Linked DNA regions of Homo sapiens: regions 2 and 3 are each linked to region 1. The links are contacts of gene promoters, found by promoter capture Hi-C in blood cells and fetal thymus (Javierre and others, 2016). All regions are on one chromosome and are shown on one strand. The core of a region is centred on a gene start or on the middle of the fragment in contact, and the rest is flanking DNA. Distances in the headings are between cores, read along the strand shown. Region 1 holds the start of HSF5 (heat shock transcription factor 5). Region 2 overlaps LPO (lactoperoxidase). Region 3 has its middle 11 kb from the start of MPO.

The links. Contacts are between HindIII fragments. The CHiCAGO score rates a contact against its expected background, and 5 or more counts as called.
Region 2: a contact is called between a fragment that was not itself captured here and the fragment with the promoter of HSF5 in region 1, in 2 of 17 cell types (naive B cells and erythroblasts). The highest score is 5.8, in naive B cells.
Region 3: a contact is called between a fragment that was not itself captured here and the fragment with the promoter of HSF5 in region 1, in 1 of 17 cell types (neutrophils). The highest score is 6.5, in neutrophils.

The regions. Positions count from the first base shown.
Region 1 is chr17:58,486,233-58,490,023 of GRCh38, forward strand. It overlaps HSF5 (heat shock transcription factor 5), which reads right to left and starts at 2,176. Exons shown (of 6, transcript NM_001080439.3): 1 at 1,493-2,176. The coding sequence starts at 2,042. It overlaps MTMR4 (myotubularin related protein 4), which reads right to left. Exons shown (of 18, transcript NM_001378067.1): 18 at 3,305-3,791. RefSeq lists silencers at 1,458-1,577, 1,838-1,887. The HindIII fragment of the contact is 13,387 bases long and covers 1-3,791 here.
Region 2 is chr17:58,248,979-58,252,769 of GRCh38, forward strand. LPO (lactoperoxidase) reads left to right here. Exons shown (of 13, transcript NM_006151.3): 5 at 82-199; 6 at 588-717; 7 at 1,437-1,643; 8 at 3,204-3,528. It overlaps LOC124904038 (a long non-coding RNA gene), which reads right to left and starts at 106. Exons shown (of 3, transcript XR_007065862.1): 1 at 1-106. RefSeq lists enhancers at 1-371, 502-571. The HindIII fragment of the contact is 3,901 bases long and covers 1-3,581 here.
Region 3 is chr17:58,289,593-58,293,383 of GRCh38, forward strand. No RefSeq gene overlaps it. Among named protein-coding and RNA genes, the nearest start is that of MPO, 11 kb to the left of the region's middle. The HindIII fragment of the contact is 2,839 bases long and covers 260-3,098 here.

The DNA of each region.
Region 1 (3,791 bases), core at 926-3,425:
CACGCGCCTGTATTCCCAGCTACTCAGGAGGCTAAGGAATGAGAATTGCTTGAACCCGAGAGGCGGAGGTTGTGGTGAGCCGAGATCGCGCCATTGCACTCCAGCCTGGGTGACAAGAGCGAAACTCCGTCTCAAAAAAATAAACAAATAATAAAAAATAAATAATCCACTATCACAGAGGGTTTCTTAACTTTTACTAAATACAGATGTATACCAAAAAGTTTTTTCAATACTGAAAGATTGTAGCCAATAGTGAAAACTCCAAAGGCTGTAAATGTGAGCTTTCTAAAATTCTTTTTTAACTAAAACTTGACAGCTGTAAAGAAAACCATCTTTGCCTTATGTTTGTCTAATCATACCCCTTTAAGGAAGCATCAAGCTCTAATTTGCTTCAATGAAAGAAATGTGTAGCCAATTCATTCTACATAGGAACTATATCTTGTAAGCCACGATGTATCGTTGTATTTTTGCTCTTAAGGTATATAAACAACGTCTACCATTCTACACATTAACCAGAACCTTAAATCTGATGATTGTCGTAGCACTTCTAAGATTTCTTAGATGTGCCAATAGGTGGAAGGTGGCAGCCCTCTTCAAGGACAAATTTCCACTGCAGGCACCTTTTCCAAAACTTTCCCTTGCCTGCTATTGTAATGTTCTAAGTTCTCTCTTTTTTTTTTTTTTTTTTTTTTTGAGACCGAGTCTCGCTCTGTTGCTCAGACTGGAGTGCAGTGGCACTATCTCGGCTTACTGCAACCTCTGCCTCCTGGGTTCAAGCGATTCTCCTGCCTCAGTCTCCTAAGTAGCTGGGATTACAGGCGTGCACCACCATGCCTGGCTAATTTTTGTATTTTTAGTAGAGACGAGGTTTCACCCTGTTGGTTAGGCCGGTCTCAAACTCCTAACCTCGTGATGCACCCGCCTCGGCCTCCCAAAGTGCTGGGATTACAGGCGTGAGCCACCACGCCCAACCGTAATGTTCTAAATTCTCTTGACTACGATTTTGTTCCATCCCGCCTTAACCCGTAGGGTGACTCCACTCTGCTTCCCACGGGAGCAAAGGAGCCCCTTTTGTTTCTTCCAGACCCAATGTTTCAACGAAGGACTACTGAGTCCACATGTTTACAGTGGACAGTGTGGGTCTCAGGAAGGTAAACGGAGGCTTACAACCAGGTAAACTCCTGGGGTTCAAACCGGGGACGAGTAGAAGGGAGCCTAAGAGGCGGAGGTCCCTTTTGCTGCCAGTGGGCTCAGAAGGGGCCGAATGCTTACGGACCCTCCAGGGGAGGGCCGGTGGCCACCGTGCTGGTGCCGCTGAGAACGGCGGCGGTGGCGGGACCGCCAGTCTCGGGAAGCACAGCGGCCAATGGGTCCCCGGCGCCTTTCCGACGCCCATAGCGTGAGGACGTGCGAAAATGCGCCCTCCAGCGGCGGTTGCTCCCCGCCGCCCATGTGCCCACTGTGGGCGAGGGCACGGGCAGTCCGGACTCACCGTGCGGCTCGGGCCGGGGCCCCGCGGGCGGCGGCGGCTGCTGGTGCTGCAGTGGCGCGGTGGCGGCGGAGGCCGAGGTGATGAGCAGCCGCTGGAAGCGGTTGGGCGGGCGGCAGGGCACCTCCAGGCCGGCCGCCAGCTTGGCCTTGTTGGCGCTGGTGAGGCGCTTGAGGTGCACGAGCAGCTGTGGCTGGTCGCGGCGGAAGTGCGGGTTGTGGAAGTGATGGAGCGGCCCATTGCCTGCCGGTTTGCCGCCCCCCGGCCCGCCCAGCACCACCTTGCGGAAGCCGTAGAGGTTGAGCTGGCGGATGAAGCTGGTGAAGCTGGTGGTTTTGAAGAGCTCGGGCTCGGCCCCGGCCCCCGCAGTCCCGCCACCGCCCCCCGGCCCGGGCGGGCTGAGCAGCTCGGCCTCGAAGAGCGGCTGATCGATAAGCAGCCCCTCGCCGCGGCCGTCCCAGCGGATGGAGCGGTAGCGCGGGCTGTTCACCAGGCGCCACAGCTTGGCGGGGAAGTTGTTGGGGTTGATGGGGGTGGAGAGCAGCGCCTCCATCGCCCCGCCGGGCCGGGGCCTCGCCCCCCGAGCCTAGCTCTCCCACACCGTTCTCGATCCCTCCCCGGCCTTCGCCTCGCCCTGCCCGCTCCTGCCGGCGCCCATCCGCCGCGTACCAGGGACCGTTGGCGCACGAGGCCCCGCGGCGCCTCCCAGCGCGGCCAATGGGGCCTCGAGTTCCCGCCACGCGGCGTGGGCACCTCCCCCTCGGCGGCCGCGTGCCCCAGCTCGGCCCGCCGGACGCCTGCGGGACCCGGGCAGGAGCCCCTTCCCCAGGCGTTCCCAGACTTCAGGCCGGGAAGGCTGTCTGCCGGGGTGTTCTAAGTCCTGACAAGAGAGAAGCCCAGTTATCCACCGTGGAATACCAAGAGGCGTGTGTTTCGGCCCAGCCAACTAGTGGAGACTTGGAATGCAGAGAAAGTGTGCGTTAGGCAGCAGAGTTGGTCGTTCTGGGGACCAAAGGGTCTGGTCTGTAATCTTTGCTAACAGTGGAACTGCTTACCTCTCAAACAAAAATGATGCTACTGGAGGTATAATATCTTGAGTAAACGAACTCACCTTTTAGATAGTAGCCCTTTGTATCTTTTAAGATACACTCTTTTAAGTCAGTATTTGTTCAAGACAATTTACTCAAGGTTAGATGAAAACTGAGGTCCCTAGGAGGAGGGAATCACAAGAATCTAAGTACTATCTTGTGTGCCTGCCCAACTAGCTGGTGGCATTTTAGACATTAAAGAGAAATAAAGATGGGACAGAATTCTACGGTATCCATAAGAATCGATCCCTAGCCAATCAATAAATAAGAATGTAACAAGAGCTGTGCTGATTCAAAAAGAGAGGTTCATTTGAAAACGGAAATTGGCCGGGCGCAGTGGCTCATGTCTGTAATCCTAACACTTCGGGAGGCCGAGCTGGGTGGACTGCTTGAACCCAGGAGTTCGAGACCAGCCTGGCCAACATGGTCAAACCCTGTCTCTACTAAAAATACAAAAATTAGCCAGCGTGGTAGCATACCTGTAGTCCCAACTGTTCAGGAGGCTGAGGCAGGAGAATCGCTTGAACCCAGAAGGCGGAGGTTGCAGTGAGCCGAGATCGCACCACTGCACTCCAGCCTGGGGAACAGAGGGAGACTCCATCTCAAAATAAATAAATTGGAAATTGCTGGGAGAAAGGGGTACAATGTTCTACTCTTCTCATGGTCAAAGAATAAGTGAATATTAAGTTTTTTTAGAAATGAAAATAAAACGACCCAACAAAGCAGCACTAATATAGAGATTTTATTTAAACTGTATTGAATTTTTACAGCACATTGCATGTTTGTCACAACGCAACTGCACAGTTTGGATTTTTGGCCACATCATGTCACTTACACCCACAACAGCTCTGAAAGGAGTATTTGATGAACACATCTGAGCCAAGAGCCCAGAGTCTCTCTCCAAGGCCATGCAGTTTGTTCACTGATGGGACAGTCCCTCAAAACAGCCACGCTAAGTAGACAGATACAGTCTCCCCAAATGTTACCAATCTTACTCCCCTTGAAAACAGGCAGAGTGAAGTGCAATGAAAGACAAGTTAATTAAAAAGCCACTCACAACTGGCAGTAAATTTTAATGATTGATAAAATGCTTAAAATAATTTTATGTATCAGAAACAAGGAACAGCTTGTTACTTTTTCAATGATCTCAGGAATTTTGCAGACACAAAATCTCCATTATTCAGCTCCATTTAAATGAAAAAAAAAGTTCCGCT
Region 2 (3,791 bases), core at 381-2,880, 240 kb before region 1:
TCTGGTCTCCATTTCCTGCCTCCCACGGGTGCCTGTGAATGGAGAAAGAACTCAGTCCCTTTGGGGTCCCTTCTGTTTCAGATCCCAGCCTGGACTTGACTTCACTGTCTCTGGAGGTGGGCTGTGGTGCTCCTGCTCCCGTGGTGAGATGCGACCCGTGCAGCCCTTACCGCACCATTACGGGAGACTGCAATAACAGGTGGCGGGGCTTGGGGTGTGGGGGCCGACCATTCCAGCCACTCCGCCCCGCCCTGCCAAGGCCTTTGTCCCTTGGGCACTCTAGGCAGATCTGCCACTGCCTTGCCCACCTGGGCTGGCGTTCCCACCTTCCCCACCTTCTCAAGATCGCGCGTCTCCAGCCCTCTCCCTCCAGCCCACTGTGTGTCTCTGGAAGCGGCACCTTTCCCCGGGGCGGGGGAGCCCCGCGCCTTCAGGGGGTGGGCGCAGTTCAGAGACCCCAAATTTGAGAGGCCCCCTTCTCTGCGTCCCCTCCGCCTCGAGCAGAGGCTCCTTCCCCCATGGGGTCCTGGGCTTTGGAGCCCCGGAGCCGGCCTGCCGAAGCTCAGCGAGGATCGTGCTGGTTTCAGGAGGAAGCCTGCGCTGGGCGCCGCCAACAGGGCTCTGGCGCGCTGGCTGCCCGCGGAGTACGAGGACGGGCTCTCCCTGCCCTTCGGCTGGACGCCGGGGAAGACGCGCAACGGCTTCCCTCTCCCGCTGGTGAGGGCAGGCCGGGCCGGGGTGAAGGATGGGAGCCAGAGGGGACGGGATGCACTACCCAAACACGCAGTGAAAGGAGGAGGAGGGATCGGTGGGGGCAGCAGGGGTGCGCGATGGAGATCTGCACAGACCCCCACCTTCCGCTAGAGGGCAGCAGAGCTCGGAGCCCGGAGCCCGGCCACGTGGCGGTCACGTTCTGGCCGCCGCAGGCCAGATACCCTGGGGTCTCCCGGGCAGATGGCCTCCCTGCCCCATCCCGCTCGCACTTACCCCAGCCCCCGCCCCTGGAGTGCATCAGCTGTTGTTTGCCTGGAGGTCCTATTTGTTGGCCTTATCGAGCTGGCAGCCCCTACCCAGAGCCCCTCTCCTATTCCTGGACACCTGGCACCTCCGTAGCTCGCATTTCAGAGGCAGCCTGTCTTTGTTTTCCCTCTCTTAGTGGAAAGGGCACCGGCTTGGCAAATCATCAAGTCATACGGATCTGGGTTCAATCCCATCCCTGTCCCTTTGTAGCGGCAGGACCTTGGAGAACTGACTTCACCTGTCCAGGATTCAATCTCCCCCTCTACAGAATAGGCTAATGCCACCCACCTCACAAACTCCTTGTAGGGATTAAGTGCACTTGTAACATGGTAGGTAGTTAATAAGCTGTAGTTGCATCTGAATCCTCAAAGCACTTTTTCCTCTAATCTGCCCTCCCCTTCTCTCTCCATCTGTAGGCCCGGGAGGTATCTAACAAGATTGTTGGCTATCTGAATGAGGAGGGTGTTCTGGACCAAAACAGGTCCCTGCTCTTCATGCAGTGGGGTCAGATTGTGGATCATGACCTGGACTTTGCCCCTGACACCGAGCTGGGGAGTAGCGAGTACTCCAAAGCCCAGTGTGATGAGTACTGTATCCAGGGAGACAACTGCTTCCCCATCATGGTACGGCCCTGCAGCTAGGCATCTCTGACTAGCCCCTTGCCCACCCTGATGTAGCAGACATTCCCAGCTCATCAGCTAGGATCTCTGGATAGATCTGGGATACTGATTTGGTAGTTTCCCATGCCTCACGTGTCCATTCGTTCACTCATCCGTTTATTCAGTAAATAGACATTGACCACCCCATACCAGGCAGTGCACTAAGCGCTGAGGATTCCAAAGTGAACAGGACACCGCTCCTGCTCTCAAGAACAAAGGGCCAGTGTGGGAATTGGACAAGTAAACTACTGATAGCAGAATGGGAACACTGGAGAAGGTTGTCTACATTCCCGACCCAGCAGCATTGGTAAAACCTGCTTATTAGAAATGTAAAATCTCAGTTGGGCGAGGCGGCTCATGCCTATAATCCCAGCACTTGGGGAGGCTGAGGTGGACAGATCACCTGAGGTCAAGAGTTTGAGACCAGCCTGGCCAACATGGTGAAACCCCGTCTCTACTAAAAATACAAAAATTAGCCTGGCGAGGTGGCACATGCATGTGGTCCCAGCTACTCAGGAGGTTGAGGCAGGAGAACCGCTTGAACCTGGGAGGCGGAGGTTGCAGTGAGCCGAGATCACGCCACTGCACTCCAGCCTGGGCAACAGAGCAAGATTCCAACTCAAAAAAGAAAAAAGAAAAAGAAAAAAAAAATGCAAAATCTCAAGTCTCACCCAAGATGTTAGGAAATAGATTCTACATTTTTACCAAGATCAACAGAGATTCATTTTATACATGATAAAGTTTATACTGCTGTACATCATCGTGGAGGATGACTTCAACTCCACTCAGAAGGACTTGAAACCTGGATGAATCCGAGTGAGCAGCAGGGATTTGTAGGGATTTCCATCCGGAAGGGAGAGGAGCTTGCAGCAATGCATCTTTTCTTATTATTCATGGGTATTACAGTTGGAGAGTCATTTCTTCACTCAAAGAATAAATCGAGGCTATGTGCTGTGGTATAAAGAGCATAAACTGTGGAATGAAGCCAATGATCTGAATCCTACATCTTTCCCTTCCAGTGTATAAGTTCTTAGGCAACTTACTTAACTTTTCTGAGCCCCAGTTTTCTCATCTATAAAATGGAACTGAATTGTCCACCTTACAGGGTTTTTTTGAGGACTGAGATGAGTTAAAGTATGCATAATTCCTGGCACATGGTAAGTCCAAAATAAATACATGGCAGCTGTTGTTAGTAGTAATTATTAACAAACCTGTTCCCACCTCGTGTCCTGCTTTCCTGTCCAGGGAGCTCAATACTCCCTCCTCACCAGAAATTTGGAGCCCTCACTGTGAGGACTGAATGATTACCCTCAGTTCTTTCACACAACAGGATGTAATGAACTTCAGGATATTATGAGCCCAGGGTGTGTAATGTCAGCAAGAAGTGTCTGGGGTCAGTGTCTGGTACCAGGGTCCTAGGAGGGTGCCATCAGCATCTTTGCATCCAGACTTGCCCTGGGGAGAGGTTGCCAGGACCCAGCTGTTCCACCCCTGCCCAGTCACTTATGCCCACTCTCTCTGCAGTTCCCACCCAATGACCCCAAGGCGGGGACTCAAGGGAAATGCATGCCTTTCTTCCGAGCTGGGTTCGTCTGCCCCACTCCACCCTACAAGTCCCTGGCCCGAGAGCAGATCAACGCTCTGACCTCCTTCCTGGATGCCAGCTTTGTGTACAGCTCCGAGCCAAGCCTGGCCAGCCGCCTCCGCAACCTCAGCAGCCCCCTGGGCCTCATGGCTGTCAACCAGGAGGTCTCAGACCATGGACTACCCTACCTGCCCTATGACAGCAAGAAGCCAAGCCCCTGTGAGTTCATCAACACCACTGCCCGTGTGCCCTGCTTCCTGGCAGGTGAGTCTAGCCTGGGAACAGAAGGGCCCAAGGACAAGGGGATTATCCAGGGAAGCTTTACCACTGCCCCCTTCTTGTCATCTTTCTGGAAAAATGCACACTGAGCCATTGCTGTCCCTAGCAGTGGTCCAGGACTAGCAGAAGGGCCCAGATGAATAAAGAATTCCAGAACATATGTTCACTGTAAAACAAAATCAGGAAGTCCAGAAAAGTAACAAAGAAAATAAAAAGAAAGTGCCAGGCTTGGTGGCTCACGCCTGTAA
Region 3 (3,791 bases), core at 429-2,928, 200 kb before region 1:
AATTGCTTGAACCCAGGAGGCAGAGGTTGCATTGGGCTGAGATTGCGCCACTGCACTTCAGCCTGGGCGACAGAGCAAGACTGTGTCTCAAAAAAAAAGAGTGAATTTTCAAAATTTTTTGGTTTTAAATTTGGTTTTCAAATATGTTTAGGTCAGTACTGTAAAAGTTAAGACAAGTTAAATTCTGTGATTTTACAAATGCTTAATGGTTTTGCAGTTACTCCACCCTTTATACTTGTGGTTATTTGGGGAGGGGGTAAGCTTCCACGAGTCAAAGTTCTACAAAAGACACTAAAAATAAGAAACATTAAACTCAAAGAACAAGAATTAAACAGCATCTTCACCAATAAGATTAGTTAAAATAGAAAAGACTGATAAACCCAGTGCCAGTCAGGATGTGAAAAAAAATAAGCGTAGCTTGGCCCCATGCCATGGGATGGCAATCTGACAATGTCAGTCAAACTCCAAAGTGCTCTGACTCAGCAATTCTACCTTCAGGTAGGAATTTATCTTTCAGACACATTCTTAGGAAAGCATAAAGATACCTACACAAGTGTGTTCATTTCCGCCTCATTTGCAACAACCAAAAGACTGGAAGCAAGCCAAATGTCCATCAGAAAAGTTTTGCCAGGTTGTGGTATACCCTGGTAAATGTGTTTTATGCAGCCTTTAAAACAGAGGGAGATCTATTTGTAGCAAAATGGCAAGATTCAACCTGAGAAAACTGATTGGGAAAAAAAAAACAAAGAAAAAGAACAAAATGGCAAGAAATGTTACCAAAAGAAAATAACTAGTTACAAAACATTATATATAGCATGTTGCAATTCATACAAAACACACAGACATACATACACGCATAGGCACCACACACATGCACACAGAAGTGTTTACATACACATAAAGATTCTGAGAGCAGGCACAAAAGCCTATTTACAGTGGTTACATCTGGGGAATGAGCTGAAGGGGCTGAGGAACAAGACCCTTTTGCTTCATCCTCAGTGCTCTTCTCAAAGTTTTACAAGGAAAATATAATAATTTTATCATGAAAGAACTAAAAATCTCTCCCTCACCACAATTATGCAAAGTAGCAAACTTTGGTTTTACTTAATCAGTAGGTTTGGATTACTTTTACACTGGCTTGCTAATATGAAGCCAGACACTAACAAAGATTGAAATGGTAGCATTGGGCCAGCGCGGTGGCTCACTCCTGTAATCCCAGCACTTTGGGAGGCCAAGGCAGGTGGATCACTTGAGGTCAGGAGTTCGAGACCAGCCTGGCCAATATGACAAACCTCCGTCTTTTTTTTTTTTTGAGACACAGTTTCGCTCTTGTTGCCCGTACTGGAGTGCAATCGTGCGATCTCGGCTCACCACAACCTCCTCCTCCCAGATTCAAGTGGTTCTCCTGCCTCAGCCTCCCGAGTAGCTGGGATTACAGGTACACAGCACCATGCCCGGCTAATTTTTCTGTATTTTTAGTAGAGATGGGGTTTCTCCATGTTGGTCAGGCTGGTCTCGAACTCCCAACCTCAGGTGATCCGCCCATCTCGGCCTCCCAAAGTGCTGGGATTACAGGCATGAGTCACCGCACCTAGACCTCTGTCTTTACTAAAAATATAAAAATTAGCCAGGCATGCTGGCACACACTTGTAATCCCAGCTACTCAGGAGGTTGAGGCATGAGAATTGCTTGAATCTGGAAGGCAGAGGTTGCGGTGAGCCGATATTGAACCACTGCACTCCAGCCTGGGTGAAAGAGTAAGACTCTGTCTCAAAAAACCGAAACCAAAAACAAACAAACAAACAAAAACATTCTTTGCAAACTAAGAAGAAAAGGAACTTCCTCAAGTCTGACAAAGGATATTTACAAACAAAGATATCACTAGCGTGATACTTAATGGTGAAAGACTGAATGCATTCTCCCTAAGACTGGGAATGAGGCAAGGATGTCTGCTTCTGCCGTTTCTATTCAGCATTGTATTGGAGAGTCTGTGCTGTACAATGAGACAAGAAAAGGAAATTAAAGGGATCAGAATTTGAATTGTCTTTACTTATATACAATATGATCACATATATACACACACACACACAGATACACACACATATATATATATGATTCTAAGGAATCTACGTAAAATCTAGTAGAATCGGTAAGTGAGTTTAGGAAGGTTGCAATATAGAGGGCCAAAATACAAAAATTAGCTGTGTTTCTATATACTAGCAACAAACAATCAGAAATTGAAATAAAAATAACAATACCACTTTCAATTAAGCATCGAAAATATGAAACACTTACGGATAAATCTGACAAAAGATATACAAGATTGATACTGAAAACAACAAAACATTGCTAAGAGAAATTAAAGGAGACCTAAATAAATGGAAGGATATAGTTTTTGATAGGTAAACAGACTCTATACTGTGAAAATGTCAATTCTTCCCAAATTGATCTATAATTCAATGCAATCACAATCAAGATATTAATAAGAAGCTCCAGTTCTAGGTAAGATGGAATAAACACATTCCACACTGTCTGTCTCTCTCACAATGAATGCAGCTATAAATTTTGTACAGAATGCATGGAGCAACTATATGAAGACTCTGAAAGTAAATCAATGCAGGCAGACTGAAGAAGAATAATATATTTGAATATACCACCCAAGTAGCAGTGAGTTTACTGTATTTTTTCCTCTGGTATCCCCCAACCTGAACTCAATGCAGCCCAAAACCCAATATGGGCATCTATGGGGCAGAGGGGGCTCCAGGAGAAAACTCTCTGGATCCGACTTAAGGTGCAGGAAAGAGATCTCCTAATGTTCAGAGAGTACAGAGACCTCCCACTTTTCTCTTTTCCTTTTCTCCATTATCTTGCACCCCAGTTCCAAGCAATCCTTGGAAATAGTGGCAGCAGCAGGAGAAGGGGCCAGAAAGACCCCAGAACTCTGAGGGAGGGCAAACTTCCTCTCCAGTCAGAGGAGCTGTGCTCCCAGGAAGGTGGAATGAATCCTTGATACTCTTTCTTCTCTCTCTCTGTCTTCCCATTGCCCTGCCCCGGTGCAGGCATGGTCACAGGAAGTACATCACAGAACAAGGTAAATAAGCTTTTTGGCCAAAGGATCAAGAATCTCAAGGAATCATAATGCATCAGGGAGATGACAGAAAAGGAGGAGCTCAGGAAAGCAACCCTTTAAAGAACCTGTGGGACAATACCAAAAGGTCTAACATTTGCATCATCCAAGTCCCAGTAGGAGAGGGAGAAAAATGTGGTATAGAAAAATATTTGAAGAAAACTTCAAATTTGGCAAACTCCCCAAATTTGGCAAAGACATAGACCTATAGAATCAAGAAGCTCAGCAAACCCCAAATAGAATAAACATAAATAAACATAAAAGAACCCATATTGAACACGCAGTCAAACTGCTGAAAACAAAGGACAAAGACAAGAATCTTGCAAGAAACCAAAGAAAGATACATTACTACAGAGAATCAACAATTTGCAGGACTGTGGCTTTCTTATCAGAGATTATGAGACAGCAGGAAGGGAAACAATATTTTTAAAGTGTTTAAATAAAGAACTTTCAACCCATAATTCTCTATCCAATGAAAATATCCTTCAAGAATGAAGGTGAAATAAAGACATTCTCAGTTAAAGAAAAACTAAGATAATTCACTGTCACCATTTCTCTGAAATGACACCAGAAAGAAACTTGGGACATCAGAAATAAAGAAAGAGCAACAAAAATGTTGAATATCTGGGTTAAATATAATAGACTATTTCTCTCCTTTGAGTTT